7 separate regions of the Homo sapiens genome follow, and all the other regions are linked to region 2. Evidence: promoter capture Hi-C in 16 types of primary human blood cells and fetal thymus (Javierre and others, 2016). All regions are on one chromosome and are shown on one strand. Each heading gives the region's core, a stretch centred on a gene start or on the middle of the fragment in contact. The rest is flanking DNA. Distances are from core to core; before and after follow the strand shown.

Region 1 (3,709 bases), core at 131-2,630, 160 kb after region 2:
GGATGTTCCAGAGTAGCCTGTCTTCAGTTCAATAAAAATGAAAGCTACTTTTAGCTTAAGCTCAAGATGCTCATCCATATGGTCCTGATTGAATTCCTATAAATCTTCTGAAGTCCCCCAGAAGAGGAGGGGGTTCCACACCTCATTATATCCAATTAAACTCACTCAGAAGCTAGTGATCCCCCCATTTTTATGAGGTTTTGATTTGCATTTCCATGGGTAGCTGTTGGTGTTTGGGGGCAGAGCCTGTCTCTGTATGCAGCACCTGCTCACACTCACACAGCTCAGAGTCAGGTACCAAGGGTTGCCTGTTTAGACTAACACACTGCCTCTTCACCACATTCCTGCGAGATAAATACCATCATCCTTATTATTACCATCCCATTTTACAGAGGAGGAAACTAGGCACGGAGAGATTAAGTAGCGTGCTCCAAGTCTCATAGCTAGTAAGCAGCAGAGCCAAAATCAGAATCCAGCTCCGGAGCGCTCTTCACCTCTCTGCCTGACTGCTTGCTACCTCCATGTGATTTTCCAGTGGTGCTCGGAGGCCACGTAGGACTGTGCCAGGGGCTGTCTGGAGGATGCAGGAAGGGGAAGTGTAGCAAATGGGGCCTCGGTGGAAAGCTGGGGGGTGGGGGAGGGTCAGAAGCAAAACTTCTCTATTTTCTGCCTAAGTTTGGAACCAACTGAGGTATGGAAAGAGGTTTTAGGCAAAGGAAATAAAATTTTCTCTTATCTTACTGGTAAAGCTGTTTGAAAAATAGAGTCCCCATCTGATCACATGGGCTTGCTATGCTAATACTTCACCCAGAATGGGACAATTGCAGGGGGGTGGCAGATGCCATCGGGGCTGGCCCGCGGCCCACATGTGCTCAATTCCTTCCTCCAAGACTGGGTCTGATACAGTGTAGACAGCAGGAGATGGAGAGTGACTTAGATGCAGCGGTTGGCCAGTGGGGCCCACCGGGATCACTTGGGGGGCTTTGAAAACTGTTGCTGCCTGGGTCCCACACCTAGAAATTCTCATTCGCTTGGTTTGCTTTGGGATGCAGCCTGGGTTTGAGGATATTTTTTTCAGGCTCCCCAGGTGATTGTCACGTAAAGCCAGTATTGGGAACCACCACCAGTAGAAGTTCCCCACAAGGACATGAGAGGAAAGGGGCACCTGCTTCCACTGCAACAATTAGCCCTGCTCACATTGATCTCTGTTATCTATTGAGGATTCACAGGAGAATGTGAAGGAAGGGCCTGCATCTTAAAGCTAGAAACCACTGCTCTAAACCATGTAGACTAGCTGCCTGGAGTGTGCCCCTTTATCACATCCAGCCACTAAAAGGTTGAGTCAGCCAAGAGAAGACCGGGGGAAGAGAGGAGAGGTAGGTGAGCCTAGGGCTGGCATCACTAGCGTATATGTCTGTATTCAAAAGCAATGGCTTCATGGCACTATAGAAGTAGAAAGAACCTCATGTGTGAAAAAGAAATTGGTAAAGAGTATCTGAGAAAAGAAGAAAAGAGAAAGAAGAAAAGGAAGCAAGGAAAGGAAAATAAGGTTTAGCAGTCCTGGGCTATGATTCTTTGATAAGGAATTTTATCATGGTCTAGATTCCTTTAACCCCTTACAGGGGATACTCCAGAAAGTGACACATTGTCGTTTCCCAAGCAAATCCAGTGCTCCTGGAGTCCAGTCTTCTCCCTCTAGTCCAGAAATCAAATGCATAGTGCCTGAATTAATTGCAGAAAATAGAGTTCCTCAATATGTCCACGGCATTAAGATGCCAAGAGAAGCCAGGCAAGGTGGCTCACGCCTGTAATCCCAGCACTTTGGGAGGCCGAAGCGGGTGGATCACCTGAGGTCAGGAGTTCAAGACCAGCTTGATCAACATGGTGAAACCCTGTCTCTACTAAGAATACAAAAAGTAGCCAGTGTGGTGGCAGGCACCTGTAACCCCAGCTACTCAGGACCCTGAGGCAGGAGAATCGCTTGAATCCAGGAGGCAGAGGTTGCAGTAAGCCAAGATCATACCACTGCACTCTAGCCTTGGTGACAGAGTAAGACTCCAGACTCCATCTCAAAAAAAAAAAAAAAAAAAAAAAAGCCAAGAGGTAGAGAGAGATTTCATAGAGCCCATTATTTACCATACACTATCAATAACCTTGAAATTCCCTTGAAAGGCATTTTTTTCTACTCCATATAGTTCAATTTAGGTTCTTGGGTTTGCGTTTGAAAGGATTCCATCCCAGAGGCAGGAGAAGTTAACTTTTTCCCCACCTCTGGGGATTTTAGACCTGGCGAGTTGAAGTTTACTGGAAGGCCCCTAAGGAGACCCTTCAAGAAGAAGTTGGCTGTGCAGATGGCACTCAGGTGGGAGGGGGAAGAAAGATGGTCTTCAAAACACAGAGACGTGTAGCATATGTGTTAGATATGGTTCTGGGGAGAACCATATTTAAGGGAGGAGCGGAGGAGAAACCTATAAAGAAGACTCAGGAAGAACAGCCTGAAATGGAAACCAGCAGAATGTGGAAGGGGAAAGCATTTCAAAGAGGAAGGAGCAGCCAGAGGTGTTAAATGCTGCTCACATGGAAAGAAACACGAGGACGAAAAAGTGCACAGCAAAGATAATATTTCTGAAACGTGAAACCAATGTATGTCTGTTTCATGCTCCATAGATCGTGTTCCCTGTAATTTTCCCGCACCCGCGGAATCAATGGCACCAGTGGGTGCTCCTGAAGGTGCCTCTGAGGAAGACAGTAGGTGCCATCCAGAACAAGGAAGTAGTTGCTTGATTTTGAACTGTACGTTAGCAAGCTTTATTAGGAGAGGAAAGAGTTTTCCTAATTCCAAAAGCAGCTCCCCTTTGCATATGAAGAGCAGAGGGTTTGAGGCTCTAAGCCATGGTGTAGACAGGATGCAGGAAATGACAGGGGGGCTGCTTCTGGGCTGTGGAAGATGGGTGGAGGGGACAAAATGAGAAGTGTCCTATATTCCTCCCCAAAACCTCCTGGTTTCTGGATGCTTCCTCAAACTTTAATCTCCCAGCTGCCTTTGTTCTCTAAGTCACTGGTTCTCAAACCTTGTGGGACCAAGGGCTGCATGAGAATCACCTAGGACCCTTGTTAAAAATACATAATTTCAGCCACCTCAAGATCTATATAGTCAGAATTTCTAAGGGTAACTGAGAATTCGCATGTCACGAGTTCCCTGGAAAGATTCTGCTGAGAGCCAGCGTGGAAAGCCCCGGCACAGTGAGTGTTCCTGTTGGTCCCCTCTCTGACCACCTCAGACCGACTACATCTCCAGGCTCGAAGGACCTGGCCCCTGAACCCCCACCCTCCACTGCTTTATTTTTCTCTGTGGAACTATCACCAGCTAACATTCCATTTTGTTTACCTGTTTATTGTATGTCCCCTTCTGCTAGATGGATGCTTCAGGAGGACAAAGTCTTTTTGCTTTTTTCTTATTTTCTTTATGGTTAACTGCACACACTAGGTACATAATAGACATTCAGGAACAATTAATGAATGGATGTATGAAGAATCAAAGAACCGAGAAGCTTTCTACCTATTCTGCCTAAGGATACATGATGAAACTAAGCTAAAAAAATGAAAGGGAAATAATTCTATCAAGAAAAAATTAAATAAGAGGATACAGCAAACTGGCTTTTCCTTTAGAGAGTCACCAATATATATACACATATACGTATACACATAC
Region 2 (3,854 bases), core at 1-2,500:
ACACATCGAAGTGTAAAAACTTAGTTGATTCTGGGTTGCTTTCTGGCTGGAAGCTGACAGAACGGACTGAAGAGAAACGAAAGACAGTGTGCGAGGCAGACCTACTGCTTTTCTGCCTTGCGTTCTTTTCTTTCTTGCTAAAGGCAGTCAAATGGGGAAAAATACCCCGATGCCAGGTGAAGGTGCACAACACAGATCGACCCAGACCGAGCCAGAAAAACGTCTCCGCCGCTCCCCCGGCTGGAAAACCCAAAGTCCACGTCCCCTTCCACACGCTAATGAGGGGAGATTTTCGCCTATTTCATTGTTCTGCCTGGCTCTGACATGGACTTTTCATCTCTCTCCTCTCTCCCCACCTAGCCCCGTGCATTCCGATTCCACAGCCCCCCCAAAATCGGAGGCTCGCGGAGAATAAAGGAGCGTGGGGTGGGCGCGGAAAGAAATGGGAAGGGGCGCGGGGCGGAGAGCGAAGTGGAAAGGAGGTGCTCCGAAAGGTAATGTGGGGGGGCGGTGGAAGCTAAGCCGCATCACCTTCATTTATCGCAAATAAATAAAAAGCACAGTCACCGGTCCGCCTTCCCCGGCGTCCCTGCCCTCCCCGGGCAGCCGCCCACCCTCGCACACGCCCCCTCCCCTCCTGCGCCCCCGGCCCCTCTCCCCGCCCTGGAAGCAAGACCCTGCCGGCGCCGGGTCCCGGTCATCTTCCGGGCGAGGGAGGGGGTCGCGGCCCCCTCGGGCCCCGGGTGGGGGCTGGGGCAGGCGCCGGGGGCTGCGGGCGCGGGGCCGCGGGCAGAACAAAGCTGCGGGGGCCGCGGAGGGCGGCGGGCGCGGGGTCGGCGGGGCCGGGCGCCCCTTACCTTCGTACACGGGGGCCATCGGGGCCGGGGTGTCCGCGGTTCATGGCAACGGGGACGGGAAAGCGGCGCGCGAGCTCGGCCCCCCCAGCCTCAGTCGGAATCTGCCATCTTGAGCCTGTGTCTCCGCTCTCGGCGCAGCCGAGGCCGCCCGCGCCCGCATCACCGCCTCCCGTGGCCGGCGCCGGGGGAGGGGGCCGGGCGCGCCGCCGCCGCCGCCGCCGCCGCTGCCGCCCGGGCCCGGCGCGGGGGGCTCGGGGCTCGGGGCTCGGGGCGGCCGGGCGGGCGGAGCGGCCGAGGCCGAGGCGCCGAGCGGCCGCGGCCCCCGAGCGGATCCGCGGAGGGGCGGGAGCCGGGGGCAGCGCGCGGCCAGGGCCGGCGGGGCTCAGCTCAGCATGGCTGGGCGCGGGGGCTCCGCAAAAGTTGCTGGCGGAGGGGGGCGGCGGGCGGGGGCGGGGGCGGGGCGCGGGGCCGGGAGAGCCACAGGGAGTCCGCGCGCAATCGAGCGCCGATGGCACGGATGCGAGGCGGGGAAGGCCGAACCGAAGGGCAGAGCCGCGCCGGCGGCCCGAGGGGACCGCGCTGGGAGGGGCTGCCGCGCAGCGCGGGGGGACTGGGCGCAGGGCGGGCCCCGGGTAGTGGGTGAGAGGGCCGGCCTGGACCCGGCGGGCGCACGGCTCCGAGCCCAGCGCAGCCGAGCCGGTCTGCAGAGGGGCCCCCAGAACTTTGTGTGTGTGTGTGCACGCGCGCGCGTGTGTGCCCAGGTGCGAGGGTTCGCGCGTGTGCTGGCGGGGAGGGAACCGACCCGAAAGAGAGCCCCACGCTGGCAAAGTGGCTCGCCCATCTCACAGCCGGTTGGCGCTCGCGGAGGTAGGAGTGGAATGAATGAATGAAGGAGTGGGCGCGCGCCGTGCTCCGGAGGAGGGCGGGTGAGTGGAGGAGCTTCGGAAAGCCACACGAGGTCAGAGGCACCGAAGCCCTGCCGTGCACGCCGCGGAAATGCAGCCCCCGGGGTGGTCGCTGGGTTCCTGCCGGAGTCTGGCTTCCACGCCACCCTGATCTTCTCCTCCTCGCGTCTACACTGTCCCGAGGGCCGCCACTCCATCACTTGAATGGGAGCTCACAACTCTCTGGGTCCTCGCTTTTCTCAGCGCTCTCTCCTATCAGGGCTTCCGCTAAACACTCTCCAGACTCTCCCCAGCCGGGAGCCTCTCCAGGTTTGCTTCTCCAGCTGCCTCCCGGATGCTTGGATAGGATGCCCTGCCATCCCCTCCAACTTAGGAAGACTTGTTGAGTCTCCTCTTAGGCACTGTTTTTAAAACTGTGGGTCGTGACACAGTAATAGATCATAAAATAAATGCAGCGGAAGGCAACCAGCTTTCAAAAAGAACGAAATGGAATCCAATAGAAAATATTAGAGTCCATTGCCCTTAGTAAGGGCAACTATTGTTTCATAAACCTTTTGTTTCGATTATAGGTACTGGACAAGTGTACTGGACCATGATGTCAATTTTATTTCCGTCTGTGAATCGTGGGTTTAAAAAAGTTGAAAAGCTATCTGTGTAAAATAATGATCTCTAACACTGTATAACTTTCTTAAAAACAACCTCGTGATTTTCTCACTACTTCTTATCCTTTCCGGTCTCCATCCTCCGTTCCCATCCTTCAGTCCTTCCCAAAAAAGGCAAGCTCTTTCACACTTTTTTAGTGGTACATCACGACACCTTCCTCTGTGTGATCTTGTACTCTGCGGTCTTCCTTGCCCCCATAATCAATGCTACACTTCCTATCCCTTCTCTTAACCTAATGCCATTCACGTTTGCAGAATCCTAGACTACTGTTGCTAAAAGGACCTCAGAGGTCATCTGGGCCAGCCCTGCCCTTTTAGAGTTGAAGAAATGGAGTCCAGAGAAGTAAAATCTGTTGCCCAATGTCACACAGTATTGAAGCTTAGGAATAGGTCTCGTGGCTCCCACTCTAGTGTTTTTTGCTCCACACCGGTCATTTATCTCCTTCCCTTCTATCCTCCCTGCAATCTTTAACTTTAGTCTTGGCCCAGGTCATCCTAAATATTGCCATCTTCATAATACGTGGTTCTGGCCATGCCACGCTCCTGGCTAACATCCTCTAAGGACTCAACCTCTGCAGGTGGGGCTGAGTGCCTTGGCTTTTCATCAAGGCAGGCGAGTCCTGACTTAGCTTTCTAAGGACATGAGTTCAGCAAGTCACTGCTTCTCTAGCCAAACTGGTTTACTTGTAGCCCAGTGCCAGCTTCACCCATCTCTGTCACTGTGCCTTTGCCCAAGCGGTCACTTTCCCACCCACTTTCCCAGAGGGGTACCTTCTCCATCTTCTCTCTTTAAGCAGATTCTACCTGTGCCTGGCTCACCTCCTCCACAAAACAGCCCGAGATAGCGTGGGAGTAAGTCAGACCTAGGTTCAAATCCTAGCTCTTCCACTTAACTATGTGATCTTGGTCAAAATGCTTAACCTCTCTGAGCCTCAGTGTCTGTATTTTGATTATGAGAAGGAGAACAATAGTAATGTTCTCCTTTTGCATCTGTAAATCTCTATCATAGCCTTCACCACACAGGTATGTAACTCCCTGTTAATACATACCCTACATGCATGTCTCTCTGCCCCTTTCTAGTGCTGGCCATTAGAACTTGCTGCCATAATGGCAGTGTAGCTACTTATGTCTGTGGAGCACATGAAATGTGGCTAGTATGACTGAGGAACTGAATTTTTAATTTTAATAACCATGGGTGGTTAGTGGCTACCATTTTGGACAAGGTGTCTCTAGACTGTAAGCTCAGTAAGGACAGAAACCATGTTTTTCTTGTTTTGGATTGTATGTCCAATAACTGCATTGCCTAACGCATGGTGAGTACTGCACACATATTTGTTGAATGGATGATAGCTGCAATTTGTTGCATGCTCCCTTGTGTCCAGCACAACACTACAAACTCGATAAAAGGCATTTCATATAGTCCTCATCAC
Region 3 (3,890 bases), core at 906-3,405, 220 kb after region 2:
CGGGTTCTGTCCCCTTCTAAAGCAGGTATAAATAGATGCCATGTACACTCTCTTAATTACTTTTTCTCGAGTATGGATGAATTTCAACATCTAAATCTGCCAAATTATTGAAGCTAGCACAGAGAACTTTCTGGGCATTGGCCAGGGAAGCCAGCAATGTGGATGGAAAGATTTATCACCCCCTCTCATAACCAAACCTCCATCGTATCTCCCTGCAAGCCTTGAAACTGCTCACTGGACCCACTCAGACAACAGAGCTATGGGATCTAGAAGGTGAAATGTCAGAGCTCAGAGAACCTCAGCTCCCTCCCAACCTTGCCATAAGAACTCAGGGCTGGCCGGGCGCCATGGCTTACGCCTATAATCCCAGCACTTTGGGAGGCCGAGGTGGGTGAATCACCTGAGGTCAGGAGTTCAAGACCAGCCTGGCCAACATGGTAAAACCCCGTCTCTATAAAAATACAATAACTACGTGGGCATGGTGGTGAGCGCCTGTAATTCCAGCTACTTGGGAGGCTGACGCATGAGACTCGCTTGAACCCGGGAGGTGGAGGTTGCAGTGAGCCGAGATTGTACCATTGCACTCCAGCCTGGGGGATAGAGCAAGACTCTGTCTCCAAAAAACCAGTTGCAAGGGTGAGGGGCTTTGCCTCTGGTTTATGGTCAGAAGGGCAAAGCGAAGGTCACCCCATTTTCCACGGCTTGGTTTCATATTATAGTCCCACGGTCCCTGGAGAATCAGAGTGAATGGAAATCTTTATTCTTCATATGGCTGTATTGCCCCAAGCTGTCCTCGTGCTTAAGGGATTTCCAGCTCCGGCTTCTAGAGGGCAAGGGCCAGCATCACTTGGCCTACTTCTTAGTATAAGACCAAGTCTAGTGACAGCTGGGTAGGCATAACTACTACAGATGCTGCTGTTCCTACTGCTCTGAAGAAGAAAACTGAAGCCACCTCTGCTTCTATTTCCTTTAACAACATAGAAAAATGATAATTTTTCTATTAGGTCCGTGAATCTCCAGGAAAAATCTTTGTGAAAGCAATGACATTTTTATTTTCTTTTTCTCATTTATACTCCAGATGACATCTGCACACACACCCAGTGTGTGGCGTATGTGTAGGTGTGTGACTGTGTGTGTGTGTCTAGCTTTCAGAGAAAATGATACACAAAATGATAAATATAGAAAAGAGATTAATAGGAGAGGGCAGTACTGTTATTTCCTACATAAAAGGATTTATCGATAGATTGCCCATAGAGTTAGTTCCCTAAACCATCAGGTTAATCTATTGTATTTAAATGTATTTAAATATTGGGCCAGGCAGAGTGGCTCATGCCTGTGATCCCAGTACTTTAGGAGGCTGAGACTGGAGGATCACTGGAGTCCAGGAGTTCAACACAAGCCTGGGCAACATAGTGAGATGTCCCCGCATCTCTACAAACAAACAAAAAACAATTAGACAGGCATGGTGGCTTGCACCTGTAGTCCCAGTTACTCTGGCGGCTGAGGCAGGAGGATCGCTTGAGCCCAGGAGTTCAAGGCTGCAGTGAGCTATGACAGCACCACTGCACTGTAGCCTGGGCCACAGAGCAAGAAAATAAACAAACACATATTGGTTTCTAGATCCTAAACTATATGATGGAAAGACTAAGAGACCAAGAATCTTAGGAATAAAATTAGAAGTTACTGCCCATTGAAAATCAACTACATATGAAAAAGTCTCCCCCAAAATGAAGAAACTCTGGTTTGAGAATGTAAATCACTAGGTAAAGATTCTGTTTATTTTATTTCCATGTTTCCCAATATTTAATTTTCAACCCTCTAAGAGCAGTTATTTTATAAAATAAGTCCCAGCTGAAATGAATTTGATAGGATTTTAGAATTTCTTTCTCCCTTAACACATCCTATTAGCCTAGTTCAATAGAGAGAGCAGAGCGCCTCATGTTGAAATAAGCTTTCCCGCCACTGAATGTGTTCAAACAGAAATATCACCTGCTTAGGAGGTACTTTCCAGTTGCCAAAGACTTCCACCTTCATCTTCTTGTTCACTCTACTCTGCAAGATGGGTGGGACAGCATTACAGACGAGGGGTCCTGTAGATACTGTCCTGACGACTGGCCCAAGGCCATGGCTAAGGGTTACAGACCCGGAACAGAACCCTGCCCTTTGCCTCCCTTGTGGGACCCAAAGCCAGGCCAAGGTCAAGGGGAGGCGCTGCAGGGGGGGCTTCCTCATTGGGTGTGGACAGCAAAGGTTGATTTTGAGATTTCCCCCCAGCTCTAATTCTCAGTAATTTGGCCTTTGAAACAGGAGGCAGAGAGAACCCTGGGGGATGGCTTTTCATGTTATCTTTTGGAAACATAGAAGCTTCAGGTGCTTCCTGGCTTGAAATAAGAGAATATTCTGCTCAGTCCCCCACATTTTTGAGACACTCCAGGCCCAGCAGACCCACAGCACCCTCACTAGCTGTTGGTAACGTTGGTGCCTGGATGTACTGACAGAGGACCAGGTGTGCCAAGGGCCTGTCACCCAGGCTGTAGTGCAGTGGCACTATCTCGGCTCACCGCAACCTCTACCTCCCAGGCTCGAGCAATTTTCCTGCCTCAGCCTCCCAAGTAGCTGGGATTACAGGCGCCCACCACCATACCTGGCTATTTTTCTATTTTGAGTAGAGATGGGATTTCACCATGTTGCCCAGGTTGGTCTCGAACTCCTGGCCTCAAGTGACACCCCCTGCCTTGGCCTCCCAAAGTGCTGAGATTATGGGCGTGAGCCACCGTGACTGGCCGATAAGAATTCTTTTCTAAACATGACCACAATACCATTATCAACTAAAACCAAAATGAATGTTCATTCCTTGAGAGCATCAAATATCCTGTTGGATTCACAGTTCCCTGATTGATTCATATTTGTTTTAGGTTGGTTGCAGCAGCCTCTGAACAAGGCCATCCACTTTTCACTGGCTTATTCTCACTCATCCTAAAAATCTCAGCCTGGACATTGTCGCTTCCTCCTCACAGAGTCCCTGATCCCAAATGTGGGAGATGTGTGTCTCTCATCTGTTCTCCCATCTCACCCTTATCCACTTGTTTGCATCCTGATAGACTGGAAGCTCCGAGAGGCTAGGACATGTCCGTGCATTTTAAAGTTACGTCTCCCGGGCCTAGCACAGTGCCTGGTGAATCATGCTCGCCAATTCCATATGTATTCCTTGAATATGTAAATGAAGGATCTCCTAAACAGAACTGGTTTTGCATTCCTCGTAAGCACATTCGATAACACTTTACACATCCATGTCATGATTTGTTTAGGAATCGGTTTCCTCAATGGACAGAGCCTCCTTGGACCCCCAGCACCTGGTCCCGCACCTGACCCATCCAAGGTGCCCGCTGAGGAACTGCTGAATGAAAGAGGACTTATAATAAATTCTATGTTGAGACTTTGGGTTCACAGGCCTTCCTCTCTGGGCCTCATTTTTCTCCTCTCTGTCAAGGAAGGATGGCTGGGAGGATTTCCAAGGTCCTTTCCCGGGACGGGGAGTCCTCATTTAGCATGCGCTTGTTGCCCTCTGCTGGCAGAATTTGCTCAGGACCGTTCTGTCCCTGCTATTCCTGAAAGCTGCAGACAAAGCCAGCAACTGCTGGGTGGACCAGCCAGTGAGTGGGATAGGGACTTGAGTTTTGTTGTCTCGCTGGTTCGACTAAGACATGGAGGTGTGTGCGTCCTTCTGCCTCATCCGTTCATTCCTCAGGTGTGGAGAAGCGCTAGGGTAGGTCTCAGACAGACAGTCGGAAAGACCTATGCCCCTGAGTGCACATTAGGACAGCCAGGGGGCTAAAAAGGGAGAGCTGGTGCCCAGGCCCCACCTCAGACCAACACTGGGGAGTAGGGCC
Region 4 (3,659 bases), core at 418-2,917, 240 kb after region 2:
GTCCTAGACTGGTGCACAGACCCTGTCCTCACCCAGAGAGCTGAGCTCTCCTGAAATGGGGCCTCACCCACTTTTCCAGCCCTATCTCCCCCCCACATCACACACTCCAGAACCAGCAGACCAATTCCTCAACAGGTCAGGGAGCTTATATCCCCTGCTTTCACACTCACAGCAACCCTGCAGAGTAGGAGTGACTATTCCCATTCTTTAGATGAGGAATCAAAGCTCAGAGAGGTTAAATAACTTGCCTAAGGCCACACAGCAGGACTGCAGGCTTCGTGATGGCAGGGACCCAGTCTGTCATATTCATTGTTGGACTTTCCAGCATCTAGCTTAATGCCAGGCGCATGACAGGTGCTCACTCATTCATTCAACAAACATTAATGAGCAAATGGATAAGCAGCCAGAGATGAGAGAAACGGGGGTCCTCACCCAGATCCTGCCCACTCCCAAGCTCTCCCTCCTTCCTGACATCTGGCTACGTCTCTGCACAGCGTTAGCTATTCCCTGCCTATCCTGACCACTGCTGTCCCCTGCACCTATCCTCATGCTTGTCCTGCCACCCGGAACCCACTGTTCAGCTGCAGACCTGGACAGGCAGGCATAGGAAGGCATAAGGACACAGTTGACAGATAGCAACAATTCTAGATTGAGACAGGCAGTGCCTCTGACAGAGAACCTGGGACCAGCTGCTGGTCCTGGAGGAATAATGAGCTTGGATGGGGGACATAGAGTCTGAGATACTGAAAGTGAACGCATCCACATACTCTGGGCTGGAGACAGGGAGGGGCAGATCGGCAGAGCAGAGCCAAACCAAGTGAGGTCAAGGGGCAGACGGAGGAGCAGCCCCACTGCATCGGGGCTTCCACGTGTGCGGGGCTTGTCTCACTTCCCCACGATCTCAACATACAGTGCAGCAGCCAGACCAGTCTCCCAAAACGCTGCTTATGCCTGGCACTCCCCGGCTTAAGAACCAGCCAGGAGTCAAGGGCTCCCCGTTCTTCCTTGTCTGCTCAGACAAGTGCTGGGGCCTGCAGCTTTTTCAGATGCCTTTGAGGGCTATGGCTCCCACAGGAGACACGTACAGCCCCAAGCACTAAGACCCTGGTGACTCTTTGCTGTCACATTAGCCACTGGCTCATCATTTTACTCAGCTCCAGAGGAAACCCAACTCCTCGAGTAATTCTTTGGTTTTTCTTCAAAGTCCCCAGTCCACCACTGGCTCTGCCTTTTAAGCTGGACATAGGAAAGCTTTCTGGATGTCAGTGAGGCCAGACCACAGCACACATGAGCAGGAACAGCATGAAGCTGCTTTCCCCAGAGCCCCTGGGCCAGAGGGCATTGCTCAGTTACTGGCCAGAACTGGAGAGTGAGATGGGGAGGATCAGCAGGGACGGCTGGAGTCACTGAAAGATAGGTTTGGGGCTTTGCTCTCTGCTTTCTTCTTGTGTGACCTTGGACAACGGACTTGGCCTTCTTGAACCTCCAAGTCTTCATTTGTACAGTGAGATGCTACTATCTCTTTGACAAATATTTTAATTTTCTCTATTTTAGGTACCGCTGCAGCTAGAATCCAAATCTGCCCTAGGTCCAAAAAATGGTGTCTATATCAAGATCGTATCCCGCTGACACAGAAGGCTGCCGGGTGGGGGGAGGGCACCCCCAAATTCAAAGAAAACCCTAAGTGTGGATGTTCAGAATTTTGGAAAAATGTCACTGAAGTGATTGAAAGAGTGCCTGGCATGCAAGGATAAGAGGTTCTTTACATAACATTTCCTAAATGCTTAATAAACGTTTGTTGCACTTGGTTTTGACATTGCCAATGGGGTTTGAACCAGTGCTCTCTCTAAATGAAGAATTGCTGATAAATAAGTGAAAATGTAGTTTTGACAAAACAACTGAGAATGTGGGGTTTTAAAGGAAGTCCCAGGCTTGTGCTGAAAGGAATCCATGGTGCAGGGCACATGAGGACCCCCAGGTAAGCCTGTCCTGATGGCACTAGCTCGTGGCTCTTTCAGCTTCTCGTGCATTGTGGAGTTGTAGAGAATGACATTTATCGAAAGTTCAACCTCAGCAGTGGTTCCAAAGCTTTATTATGCTTTGATTTTCCTAGGTAGGGTAGTACCAACTTTACAGTCAAGTTTCAATCGACAGAAAAATGAGAGTCTGAAAAATGATATACTTTTTCTTTTAAAGAACACTGTATCGGCCGGGCACGGTGGCTCACACCTGTAATCCCAGCACTTTGGGAGGCTGAGGCAGGTGGATTGCCTGAGGTCAGGAGTTCAAGACCAGTCTGGCCAACATGGTGAAACCCCATATCTATTAAAAATACAAAAAAATTAGCCAGGCTGTGGTGGCGGGCACCTGCAATCCCAGGTACTTGGGAGGCTGAGGCAGGGGAATTGCTTGAACCAGCGAGGTGGAGGTTGCAGTGAGCCAAGATCGCGCCACTGCACGCCAGCCTGGGTGACAGAGTGAGACTCCATCTCAAAAAAAACAAAAACAAAACAAAAAACACTGTATATTAATTTTGATCAAAGAATCAAAATATAGAGGTGATTTTTTTTGTAAAAATAAGTATTGTGTTGCTAAGCAGTTCACATTCAACCAAGCACTTGCAAGGTCAGTCTCACGATCAGCCACCAGCAGCTGCGCATTCATGGCTGCTGGTGAAGAGCCGTATCACCTCCCTGTGCCTCAGAGACCTCTTCTGTAAAATAAGGAGGCTGGCCTCGATCAAAAGACCACTTGTCCTCTAGTTGACACCTGAGCAGCTTTAAGAGGTTGAATGTTGTATAGAGAACGATCTTGTAGAAATCTGTAAGCCCCTTATGTGACACCCAGATGCTGACGACCCACCTTTAGAAACTTCAGGCCATTTTGGGAGAGTTGGCAGAATGAGTTTCCACATATTCACTGCTGGGACTGCTGCTTCCACTGTTTGGTGGTCCCCCATCCCCTTCAGCCAGGAGCACCCACTGTATCCCTCAAAATCCCCCTTGGGGGGCCCCTTCTCTTATTCTCTGGCCCTCCAGGCAGGAAGAGGACACCCCAGCTGCCCAGCACTGGGCCAGGCCTGTGAGTGACTGCTGCCTCAAGGTGTAGGGCTGTCCTGTGGCCCTCCCCACACCCTTGTTGCCACCACCTGCCCTTCTCCATCACCTGGCCCCTCTGCAATGCCCAGCCTGGGACTCAGACTCACTGGAGAAAACCATCCACCCCTGGGAACCTGTCGGCCTCCCTGCCTGTCCCACAATCCCTGACCTCCCCACGGCTGCCGCCACCATAGAACCTCAGCCTGCAGACAGGCCCAATGGCGCACTCAGCTCCCTGCTTGGAGCACAGCCCCACAACCTGAGTCCTCCCTTGGGACCTCCGGCCCCGCCCCCCGGCCTGTCAGCTCCATCCAGCTTCCCTCGCCTTCCCAGCTCAGTTGGTCACCACCTTCAGACACAGTGGTAGAGGCTTCCTCATGTGCTGGGGTCACTGGACTCCAGTCCTTCTACTGTGTGAGGCCACCAACCCCACCTCTGCTTAAATCCCACTGTTCACATCCAACACCAGGTATCACAGGGCAGGGAACCGCACCGCCTGGTCCTCCAAAAAACCCTCTTGCTAGATTCCCAACTGAGTCCTCACAAAGATTCTGGCCAATC
Region 5 (3,694 bases), core at 166-2,665, 170 kb before region 2:
GTTATGGGGAGGAGACATTAAGGATGGGATAGAGCAGAGGACTATAATTTTCCTATAAGTTTATGGTATTAATTAACTTTTAAAAATTATGTACATGTATTACTTTGAAAAGGAATTAAATTTAAATTTCAAAAATAACTTCCCCAAAGCCATATAGCCAGTAAGTGGTGAGGCAGCCATCTGAATGTGGGCAACCTAATTCCAGTGCCCATGCTTTCAGCCAATATACACCTCTCCTTGTGTTGATAATACACAAAAATAATGGCCCCTATTCAGGATCAGGCATTGGTGGTAACTGCATAAAGGTGGCATGAACAAGTCTTCCTTATTCTCTAAGAATATCAGGTGCCAGTCAAGAGACAGGCAGACAGCAGGACAATGGTTGGAAAGACTGGTTGCTGAAAATGTTATCAGAGGAACTTTTGAGTGAGAAACATTAAAATTTTGTATTTCGAACAGTTTAAAGGGTTCAAGCCAACAGTTTGTTTTCAGGGAAACATTTAAAGGCTCAGTTGGTCAAATATGAGCCCAAGAAATAAAGTAAATAAGTAAAAAATAAAGAGGTTCAGGTGATATGATTTGATTGGCTAGAAGAACACAAAACACTTCATGGAAGGGTGGAGTCTACAGTGATTTCTCTAACCCTGCTAGTCAAAGGAGATTTTAGATCCTGACATTTGACAAGTCAGATAAATTCAATACTGTCTCAATCAAGAACTGTGCTTCCCATCTCTCCACTATTACCTACTCATTCACAATTTCTGTTGGTGGCCAAGATGCTAGCTGTGGCATGGGGCTTGGGAGGATGGAGTTGACAGCTCCTTTTAGGCAGTACCAAAAAAGCTTTTGTTGCAAGGTGATCCACAAAGATCACTCCCATATCACTAACATAAGCAGAATGATTACCATTTCCACCTGCCATGCACACATCCTCTGGGTGCCCCACAGAGGCCTGTTTCCCTGAAAGTTTTATGTGATGCTGCTGGGAGGTGGGGAGGAAAAGGGCAAAGAAAATGAAATTAACATGAGGAGTGGATTCAAAGACTCCATCTCTAAGTGTTCATAAGTAAAATCCTTTAAAAGATTTTCAGTATTTAGAGAAAAAGAACAATGTCAACTTTTTGAATACATTTATGTCAAATAATAGGATTTGGAATGCCTCTGCCTGGTGCCTAGAAATTTAACTGTAGAAAAACGAAGCCTTCAGTTTAAATGCTTAATTGTGCTTTTTTATAGCCACCATAAGAGTTTTATAAATTAACTTATTTTTGTCCTTTGAAGGGAATGTTTAAAAATATCTAGGAGAGAGCCCATCTCAACAGGCTAACATATTGGCATGGATTAAGTGACAAGCAGAGAGAAAAATAAAAAGCAACTGACAAAAAGACACAACACGATACTGGATAGGGCAGGATTTTTTTCACTTAATATATCTTAGAAATCTCTGCATGTCAAGACACAAAGGTCTACCATGTTCTTTTAATGGCTACATGGTGTTCCATTTTACGTGTGCATCAACTTATTTAACCAATCCCTTACTGACGAACATTCAAGTTTCTTCCAACAATCTCAGTTATAAACACAGTAGCAATTAAAATCCTTACACACGTATTTTTTGTTCACTTTCCTAATTACAGCTTTAGGTTAAATCTACTTGGAGATTTACAACACTCTAGGGACTCTCTTTCAAGGAAGCAAAAGGTAAAGTTCTCCCCTGCTACGATTAAAGGACTGAAACAAATTCTGACTGCTGAGTCTACTGGTTCCACCAAACTGAACAACGAAGAATCCCTATTTTGGCTAATAAGAAATGCTAATTATTATTTCTTTCAGAGATGGCTCCTGGCTTACTAGGGTTAAGTGTGCAAACATAAAAAAGATCTGTAATTATCCTTTAAAAGCACACGTGAGTTCTGTAGATTTGGGCTCACAAAGGCGGAGCACTGGGAGACTGGTGTGGATTTTTGCCACTCAGATAAAGTATGAAGAAGCTTTTTTGCCCCTGGACTGAGCTGTAGTTCTTTCTCTGATCTATCTTGGCCTTTTCTGAACTCCCCGCTACTGAACTATGCAAATAAAAGGAAGCTACAAGGACCCATTGGAGAGAGAGGAACGAAGAGAAGGCCTGTTTTAAATACAAAAAGTTCTCTGTTTACAAACTTTCAATAAGACAAAACTTTGTGTGCTACCAGTCACTGGTGTTAGTGGTCAACTGCACAGTGTCATTCTGGACCTAAGCACAGAGATGAAGAATACTTCATATCGATCTTAAACAAACTGTTCCGGAAAACAGAATAGATAATAATGTAACCACAGCAGTCTGGTTCAACTTTTATGTAACAAAGTTGTGAGTTGTTTTTCATTTGCCATGGATCCACAGGTTAAAGGTCACATAACCTGAGCATGCCCAGATGAACCAGGTATGTAACAACAGGCAGAACCTAAGTGCCTGGATTGAGGCGAGTGAATGGAATTTAGAAATGGATACCACATGGCAGGATCCAGGATCCAATCAGATCGAGCTGTGGCATCACTGCATGGCAGGATCCAGTCAGATCATGCCTCTGATATCAATTCGTTGCAAGATCCAATCAGATCATGCCTCATTACCCTATGCTTATAAAACCTGACCCAGCCCTTTGCTCAGAGACACTGCTTTGGGAACTATCTCCAGTGTTCTCCTTACTTGTTACAAGTAATACAATCCCCTTGCTAAATCCTTGTCTGTGGTCATTGGGTTGGTACCTGTCAAGTGACCAAACCCACTCGTGTGGGTAACAACAAGAAGAAGATATTTTATGAGCCTGGTGTAACCTTGTACTCAAATCAGATAAGGATTTTATAAAAAGGGAAATTATATGCCATTTTTCACCTATGAACATAGATATAAAAATACTAACTATAGTACTTACAAACTGAATCCAATATTAAAAAGCATATCATATCAAGCACATGAGCAAATGGAGTTTATATCATAAATAAAAGGGTAGTTTAATATTACAAAATATATTAATATAACTTGTCCCATTAGTAGATTAAGGAACAAAAAGCATATGAGTGTCTTAATAGATACAGAAAGAACATTTGATATAATTCAATATTCATTACAAAACTTAAACATGATAAAGTGTTTCTATTAATTTTTTTTTTTCTTTACAGACAGGGTCGTACCCTGTTGCCCACCCTGGAGTGCAATGATGTGATCATAGCTCACTGCAGCTTCAAACTCCTGGGCTCAAGTGATCCTTTTGCCTCAGCCTCCTGTGTATCTGGGACTGCAGGCATGTGCCACCATGCCCAGCTAATTTTTAATTTTTTTTTGTAGAGATGGGGTCTCACTATGTTGCCCAGGCTGGCCTTGAACTCCTGGGCTCAAGTGATCCTCTCATCTCAGCCTCCTGAGTAGCTGAGACTACAGGCCTGGGACTACAGGTGTGCACCACCACACCCATTACAGAGTGTTATACCATGTTCATGGATAAAAATGACTTACACGTTTAAAGATGTCAGTTGTTCCTGAAGTAAATATAAATTCAATGTATATCCAGTAAATATAAAGCAGATTTTTGGTTTCTGTAACTAAAATTCTTATGAAAGAGTGATGTTAAAATTCACTTAAAAACATGAAGGGACAAGAACAGACAAGGAAAATTTGAAGAACTCTCTGGGAACAGGGCTTCCCTACTAGATACCA
Region 6 (3,592 bases), core at 554-3,053, 180 kb before region 2:
AGATCCTACCATCACCTCTTGAGATGAGTCACATGACTGAAATATTTTTCAACTGGGGATGTATTGTACTCAAAATGGAGAGACACCAAAGTTCCTTCAAATGGCACTGTGTGTCTGGGTTCCTTTGTTCCTTCACTCAAGCCTGATTCCCACGTCTCCATGAGCATGGCAGGAGGCTGGCTGTAGCAGCTTCTCAACCAATGGCAGGATGGAGCAAGCTACATGGTTATAGGTAGCAATGGAGGCTAATCCCACTTTGGGCTTTTTGCCCATGCAATAATAAATGAGTGTGTGTGGTTTTTGCTCCCTCTGTTAAGTGGATGTTAATTTTTCAGGCCAAAGTAATTTGAGCTGCAGTTTATCAGTTTTCTAACCTTGCTTTATCTATAATGATTTCTCTAGACTTTCAACTTAGTATAAACAAGGAAAACATTTCGGGTCAAATTTTTTTTATATATAAACATGTTAAGAGTGAGCTAAGTAACTGTTTTTATATCTAAAATACTGAATGATATTTATGAATCAATTTTCTTAAAGTTTTCATTTTTGGTAACGTCGGCTGAAACAGTGGCTGCTTACACAGGCACAGTGAAGTGCAGCCTGCAGGAGACACTTGATGACCTAAGCAGAACAACCCACCTACCAGAAATATCCAGGTAACTGAATGAGTGAATGCGTGAATGAATAATGGAGCTGGACAAAATCATTTCTATATGATCAGTTGATGTGAACCACTTTGGTTTACACACTTAAAAAATTACTCTCGGCCAGGCATGGAGGCTCACACCTGTAATCCCAGCACTTTGGGAGGCCAAGGCAGGAGAACTGCTTGAGCCTGGGAGTTCAAGACCAGCCTGGGCAACATAGTGAGACACTGTCTCTAGTTCTTACAAAAATAAAAAAAGAAATTACCCTCATGACTAAAGGTTGTATGCTACAGCCTTTACAAGACCATTTCAACACAAGGTAAAGATAGCAGGGGGGTCTGGATCAGGAGACGTGGATCAAGAGAGTCCAGGAGAGAAAAGATGGCTTGTTCAGTATGTGTAGACAATTAAATGCTTTTCTAATCGAAATTGTCTATAAATATTTAAAAGAAGACCAGTTCTACTACTTAATCCTGGGGGACCCAGAACAATATCTGTTTGTCTTATCTTTTGGCCAATTCTCTAGCCATGACCAGAGTCCCCTAGTCCAACAGTAATTCACTGAAAAGGAGTTCCCTGGCTCTTCCCTGCCCTTCTTACTTTAAAAAGAGCTGACTCCGCCCTTCTCAGTGCCATGGCTCCAGCACTCTGACAAACGCCCAGCACCAAGAGGGGGCTCAGTGGACAATACTCTAGACTCCCTATGGCCCTGGCATGGTGACCTGCACACAGTGGCATAGTGGTAGTCACAGGAGGGAGCAGGATAGAATCTGTATTCATTGAATGAATGACTGAAATCAGTTATTTTTGCCAGTTATTAAGTTTGACATTTCTTCAAGAGCATGGCACCTGAGTCCCAATTCTGCTATTTAGAACCTGTATCAATTTGGGTGAGTCACCTACCTTTCCTGAGCCTCAGTTTCTTCATCTATCAAATGGGAATAGAAATATCAGCCTTGCATGCCCCATCAAATGATGGAGGAGCTAGTGCGGGTGGAACACCCAGTGCATGTTTGCTATGATTCTCCTGTCTTTAGCTCAGTGTCTCCCAGCATCTGCCTCCAACATGCCCTGGAGTTCTTACGAGTGGAGCTGCTGGCCAGCCATCTGCTGTGCAACCAACAGTGCCACATACGTGGGGTCAGGAATAATGATTTTGCATTGGCTTTCTTTTAAAAATTCTAGGCTATATCATCTAGTCCTAGAGGTTTAGTGACACCCTCAATCAGGTCTAAAAGCCCCTTTGGTGGTGGAGGCACTGCCATCCCTCTGAAGGTCATCGGCTGCCTGACTCTGGCTGCCAAGCTGAGGCTGAGCCATGTTAGGGGAATTAACCAGCATTTTAGGCAAAGTTACAGGACTGGCACTGGGGTAAGTAGCAAATAGAAAACGAGGCTGGGAACACAGAAGGTGGGAATCAACATGCCCACAGCATGGAGAAATCAGGCTCGAGAACAAGGATGATCAATGTGTAGGAGGGAAGGTCTCCATCGCTCCAGCTGGGACACAGAAGGGCTGGGGAAGCTCTTCAGCTGGAGAGGGACCAGGTGACCCCTCCATGTGGCTGCACTTGGGGGTGCATCCTTGTTTTCCCAGGACTGATGCTTCCCCTTGAGCCCCTCAGTATCTCCTGACAAAGCTGACCACCCCCATGTAAGGGGAGATCCCTCCCCAACCCCCTTTCCATCCTGAAGCCCCTTTTGGATAAGCTCCTGCACAGGGGTCTTGATCCTGTTCGCTTGCCTTGGAGGCTCTGCCCCATCAATCACCTCACTTGAATTTGCAACCGCACCTCCTCTACTGTGTGGACCTGTCCAGACCTTTGGCCTTCAAAGCCCCCCTCCCCTGCTATTCCCTTAAGCTATTTTCCCTTTGAGTTCCCATGGTACTTTGCTCATTTTTATGGGACTGACACTGTGTTTTGTGTTATAATGATTTGTATGTGTTTCGTCTTGTTTATTACCCTGCAAACCTCATGAGGACACAAACTGTCTACCTTATTTATGTAACACCTGCAGTTCCCAGCATAATATCTTACACTAGTGGGGCCAATAAATACTGACTGTGTTAAATTTTATGATAATTCTGACTTCTAAGAACAAGTAATCATATTTCCCCACATTTTTTTTTTCTGATCCCAAAATGTAGTCACAATAATGTGATCACAGTTACACAGTGGTTTCTCTATAAATAAAACAGCTACTGGTTTCTGTTTTATCCTACTCAGACTCAAATACACTTTCCTACCTTCTTGAGTGCAAAGACATTTTCTAAGGCACTTGCCATTAGATCTCTCTAGAAAACATTATTCTGGGAGCTCCCAGTCACAACTGTGGACAGCTGAAGCCTTTTGGATGACTCCCTAGCCTCAGTCTGCAGCTTCCCTATTCAGCCTCATGTGTCCGGCACATTTTCACGACCCTGGCAGGCTGGCAGTCCCCGCCACTCTTCACTGCAGGATGCTGTGGGACTCAGTAGCCACTGCTACTGTCTGTCTGTGGCTGCCCCTCACCTGTGCACCTGGCTCTCTCTCCCAGGTTTCTTTGAGTTGTTCCCATGAAGGTCCTCATCTGCTGCCCAGCCTCTCGGTTCTATCATTTCTTTCTGGGGGCCTTAGGGGCTGCCGCAGAGGCACGGACATGCTCTGGCTTTGCGTTCCACTCTCAGCCCTGTCAGCTCTCTGACTGGTGGAGAGACGGCTCTCTCATCCTCCTTCTCAGACACGCTATTCAATTCTCTCCTGGGCACAGATGTTGAGAGTCTGTGTCAACTCAGATCTCATACGTTAGGAATGAGATTCCAATCTAGCTGATTGTCAGATTTTAAATTGCTTTTGCTTTTTTCCATTTGTGGCAAAGGGCCGGGCAAGGCTGCTGGACCCTTCTGATGACCAAGGCTACCCACGTGTGGGTGGCTGCTCAAGGCCAGGCTTCAGTCTGGGGCTG
Region 7 (3,844 bases), core at 1,341-3,840, 180 kb after region 2:
TTTCTCTCTTAATGAAGTACAAAGACCTTCAGGTCTCATCCCCAGGACCTGAAACATTAATTTATGAGGGTGACCTTGACCTCTTGAGGGCCAGATGGAAGTGCAGACTCGATTAATTGCACAGATGTTTATTGAGTGCTTACTATGTGCCAGGAATGGTGAGGAGTACCGAGAGGGAGTGAGACATCACCCCTGCTCTCAGAAGCAGCAGTGCGGCGGGGAGGGCAGGACTCCAAAACGGCTCCGATTCCAGGCCCGCGTTTGCTTCCCGGGAACAGGCGTCTAATGGCCCTGGTTTATTATCACCCCCTTTTCAATGCCACTTTTGTTTTTCTCTTTCAAGTATCATTTCCATCCATAATGGTCCCACTGGCCCGGATTTTGCCCAATAAGAACCGAGACGAACTGAATGGCTTTTTTAACAAACTCATTAGGAATGTGATTGCCTTGCGGGACCAGCAAGCTGCCGAAGAGGTAACGTATTTTAATAGGACACAGCCTTGAAATGGAATGGAGCCGACTTTGGCATCACTGTCTCTGCTCTTTCTCTTCCCTCTCAGCCCCGCACATCACACCGTGCCGTCCTTCAGCAACCCACCACTTACAGCTTCCAGGGACAGTGGAGAGAACAGAGGAAGGTTGAGGAAGGTCAGACAAGAAAGGGAGGGTGGGACGGCAGAGAGAAGCCTACAGCAATGTGTACATCCTCGGACACGGACGGGTAGAATTAAAGCCGCCCCCAAAACTGTCTCCCTAGTGCAAGCATCAACCCAAGCACAGGTTAGAATAGCCCAGAAGAATTTTCTGGGTAAGTGTGCCCACATGCAATTTTCATGAGCATATTCTTTATATTGAAAACCCAGCAAGATGGAGTTCTCCAGCATGAACAGCATGCTTATTAGAGAGTTCGGCAACTGTCAGTCACTAACCCCACACTCCCACTCAGCATGGAGGATGTCGCTACAGAACTCGTGGTTGAGGGCCCCCTGGACTCCTTGGCACGATTCATATGAGACGTAGCATTTTCTTTCCTCCTTGCAGATTTGCACTATGCTTGGCACATAGTAGGAATCAAGTAAATATTTGTTGATTGAACTTGGCTAAAATAGAAAGAGGAGTTTTCAGTGGGAAGAAAGGTCATTTCAATACTGGATATGCATATGCATATGTAAATCTGGGCTTTAAAGCCCTTGTCACATTAAAGAAAGTTACTAAAAAGGAAAACAGGGCTGAAATGGCCTTTCCTTAGCTGGCTCGTGCAAGATGCAACTTTAAAAGGGTTGTCTCAAAGACTGGATGGCTCAGAGGAATTGGTGAGGGCCAATTGTTAAGGCACTGGCCTGAAATGAAATCAGGGGTCAATTAGTGGCTTGATACACCGAGCGGCCTTGGGCAGCAGCCGCGTCCTGTGCAGCTTCACGCCCGGAGAACTGTGCAGCAAACGTGTCTAGATCCAGAAGGCATGGGAAGGTGTAGGCAAGCTTGCAGCCCCCTCGGCCCACACCACTGTGAACTCAACTCGCATGTCCTTGGAGGTGCGGGAAGAAGCAGCTAACTGGCATCCCTGCCCCAGCTCTGAAGCCTAAAAGGACAGAACATTCTGATCCAGGTTCATGTTTCTCCGCAGAGTGAGGCTGGAGCCAGGGGGAGAAGGGATAAAGAAAGAACCATTTTCAACCCTCAACATTGCTACTAAGGGCCACCTTTTGAGAGTGTTCACACACACACACACACACACACACACACACGCATCCCTAGCCTGGCTGTGGAATCAGGCTAAAAATTTTAAAACTGTTGCATCGAATGACTTACTAAGAGGTGAGAGGTTATTAAAGATCCAATTACTGGGATTGCCTAGAGCTTTTCCTTTTATAAACTCTAGTGCTATTTGTTTCAAACAATGAGTTGATCTGAGAAAAATCTCCCAACCACAAATCCAGGACAGCCATGTCAAGACAGAGCTATACGGTTACTAAGAAAACTTGCTTTAAAACCATCTAAAGTCTGTATACATTCCATCAAGCAGATGTGTGTTTGCGCAGTGAAAATGCGGCACAGATGTTAAAAGGTAAATATTTTTCTAAGCTCTAGCCGATGGGTGGATTAGACACCTACATCTATCAGGGTGCGTATTTTCCTTGGATAGGACCATAAACCAGCACCGTTTCAGTCCTCAATGGGCAGTGTTCAGATAGCCTCCCTGATGCCATGTGAATAAAAGAAACCCATCTATACTAATGTTCTTCTCCAGTGCACGGGCCCTGGAGAGTGGCCTTTCCTCTGGCCTCTGTAGCTGGAGGTTAAGACAGATTTCTGCAAGATTCTGACAGCCCTTTAGCAGTCTGTCTGGGCTGGGATAAGAGGAAAGGATGCTGGCTGCAGTTTTGCCCATGGAAAAATACCCGGTGTAGAGGTGGCTGTGCCCTCCCTCCCATCATTACTCCTACACTACCTCAGCAAAGCCATAGCCAAGCCTCAGGGACCACAATGATATCACACCCTGAGGACCTTCAGAGGGACTGACTGAGAGGTCTGGGGGTGCTCTGGGGTCCTGTGCTGGTGTCCCAGAGCTGAGGGAGCAAGGGATGCTCACTTCCCCTGCGTGCCATCTTGCCTGACCCTGCCCCAGCTCTGCTCCATGGGAGCAGGGCCAGCAGTGGGACCACACCAGCGCCCATTGACCGAGCAGCAGGAAGGAAGCTGGGGAAAGCCAGCCCTTGAGGATGCTGTTTGAAAATCAGAACGAGCAGGGCCAGGGTGGAATGAAGCCACCAACTACCCCCGACCCTCACCATTTTCTCAGCTATTACAACCCAGCAGGCTGTTGGGAAGCTGAGGCCTTGCTTCCTTAGACTCAAGGTCTGTGGCACCCATAGTCTTAACCTTGAGCACTGCTAGGATCCCAGTAGGCACCTTCCAAAGTCACAAGGCTGGGGTGCAGTAGAGCTGCAAAGGTGTCAGCAGCCAAGACTCCCGCTCTAAAGAGCATTCACTTGTCATCAAACTCAGCATACCCATCCTCCAAATGCACGCACTGCATTACATTTTTATCTGTTGAGTCATGGACTGCAGATTTAACATGTGCTCAGCATAAAACTAGGCACGGTGTCAGGGGTTGAGGGTGGGGTCCTGCCCTGGAGTTGCTTATAATCTTATGGAGGAGGAAAAGCAACCACACATGAAATGACAACAATCTTAAAAGATGGAATCATCAGGAGGCTGAGGCGGGCGGATCACCTGAAGTCAGGAGTTCGAGACCAGCCTGACCAACATGGTGAAACCCCGCCTCTACTAAAGATACAAAAATTAGCCGGGTGTGGTGGCACATGCCTATAGTCCCAGCTACTCAGGAGGCTGAGGCAGGAAGATCACTTGAACCTGGGAGGTGGAGGTTGCAGTGAGCCAAGATCACACCATTGTACTCCAGCCTGGGTGACAGAGCAAAAAAAAAAAAAAAAGATGAAATCAGACGCTCATGTGTGTGGCATAGATTATTAATGCAATCGAAATTCAGAAGCCAGTGAACTGAGAAAATGCTGCAGCTAGCAGAGTACTTTGCATGAAATTCTAATATTTTTCTGTTGGTGATTCTGATACTCTCCTTTTGCCATTTTAGTCCCATAAACTTCAGAAAATGGAAATGTCTTGGTTGTCCTTCATGACATTAAAGAGCATTTCAAAGAAGGGATGTTCTAGGAATAAGCTTTGTTAACACAGAGGCGATATAGAAACACTCCTATTGTTACAATTAGTAATAGTGAAAATATAAAGAATATGCAAATGACTGATAAAGAAGGTAGGGGGAAATGGAAAAAAAGCTCTGACTACTTAAACGGGGGCAGGG

Evidence for each region. The method cuts DNA at HindIII sites, captures the fragments that hold promoters and counts their contacts. A CHiCAGO score of 5 or more calls a contact.
Region 1: a fragment that was not itself captured here is called in contact with the fragment with the promoter of HIPK2 in region 2 in 9 of 17 cell types (monocytes, M0 macrophages, M2 macrophages and 6 more); the score reaches 19.1 in monocytes.
Region 3: a fragment that was not itself captured here is called in contact with the fragment with the promoter of HIPK2 in region 2 in 17 of 17 cell types (M1 macrophages, megakaryocytes, endothelial precursors and 14 more); the score reaches 33.1 in M1 macrophages.
Region 4: a contact is called between a fragment that was not itself captured here and the fragment with the promoter of HIPK2 in region 2, in 2 of 17 cell types (monocytes and M1 macrophages). The highest score is 6.0, in monocytes.
Region 5: a fragment that was not itself captured here is called in contact with the fragment with the promoter of HIPK2 in region 2 in 5 of 17 cell types (endothelial precursors, M2 macrophages, megakaryocytes and 2 more); the score reaches 8.8 in endothelial precursors.
Region 6: a contact is called between a fragment that was not itself captured here and the fragment with the promoter of HIPK2 in region 2, in 1 of 17 cell types (M2 macrophages). The highest score is 5.4, in M2 macrophages.
Region 7: a contact is called between a fragment that was not itself captured here and the fragment with the promoter of HIPK2 in region 2, in 7 of 17 cell types (monocytes, M1 macrophages, endothelial precursors and 4 more). The highest score is 13.1, in monocytes.

Annotation. Positions count from the first base shown.
Region 1 is chr7:139,937,300-139,941,008 of GRCh38, forward strand. All of the region lies in intron 5 of TBXAS1 (thromboxane A synthase 1), which reads left to right. LOC105375532 (a long non-coding RNA gene) reads left to right here. Exons shown (of 2, transcript XR_928043.3): 1 at 1-3,709. Among named protein-coding and RNA genes, the nearest start is that of TBXAS1, 110 kb to the left of the region's middle. RefSeq lists an enhancer at 857-1,357. The HindIII fragment of the contact is 2,847 bases long and covers 1-2,804 here.
Region 2 is chr7:139,776,748-139,780,601 of GRCh38, forward strand. It overlaps HIPK2 (homeodomain interacting protein kinase 2), which reads right to left and starts at 1,251. Exons shown (of 15, transcript NM_022740.5): 1 at 858-1,251. The coding sequence starts at 876. It also overlaps a transcript of TBXAS1 not described here. RefSeq lists silencers at 847-936, 1,367-1,596. The HindIII fragment of the contact is 7,054 bases long and covers 1-2,801 here.
Region 3 is chr7:139,998,907-140,002,796 of GRCh38, forward strand. The region is part of intron 9 of TBXAS1 (thromboxane A synthase 1); the gene reads left to right. Among named protein-coding and RNA genes, the nearest start is that of PARP12, 62 kb to the right of the region's middle. RefSeq lists an enhancer at 3,717-3,776. The HindIII fragment of the contact is 413 bases long and covers 1,950-2,362 here.
Region 4 is chr7:140,018,471-140,022,129 of GRCh38, forward strand. TBXAS1 (thromboxane A synthase 1) reads left to right here. Exons shown (of 13, transcript NM_001061.7): 13 at 1,555-1,823. The coding sequence ends at 1,629. Among named protein-coding and RNA genes, the nearest start is that of PARP12, 43 kb to the right of the region's middle. The HindIII fragment of the contact is 837 bases long and covers 1,250-2,086 here.
Region 5 is chr7:139,608,404-139,612,097 of GRCh38, forward strand. All of the region lies in intron 9 of HIPK2 (homeodomain interacting protein kinase 2), which reads right to left. All of the region lies in intron 2 of LOC105375530 (a long non-coding RNA gene), which reads left to right. Among named protein-coding and RNA genes, the nearest start is that of CLEC2L, 87 kb to the left of the region's middle. The HindIII fragment of the contact is 1,148 bases long and covers 842-1,989 here.
Region 6 is chr7:139,591,690-139,595,281 of GRCh38, forward strand. The region is part of intron 12 of HIPK2 (homeodomain interacting protein kinase 2); the gene reads right to left. It overlaps LOC105375530 (a long non-coding RNA gene), which reads left to right. Exons shown (of 4, transcript XR_001745383.2): 2 at 538-656. Among named protein-coding and RNA genes, the nearest start is that of CLEC2L, 70 kb to the left of the region's middle. The HindIII fragment of the contact is 7,922 bases long and covers 1-3,592 here.
Region 7 is chr7:139,957,291-139,961,134 of GRCh38, forward strand. TBXAS1 (thromboxane A synthase 1) reads left to right here. Exons shown (of 13, transcript NM_001061.7): 8 at 344-474. Among named protein-coding and RNA genes, the nearest start is that of PARP12, 100 kb to the right of the region's middle. RefSeq lists an enhancer at 1-106. The HindIII fragment of the contact is 2,222 bases long and covers 1,480-3,701 here.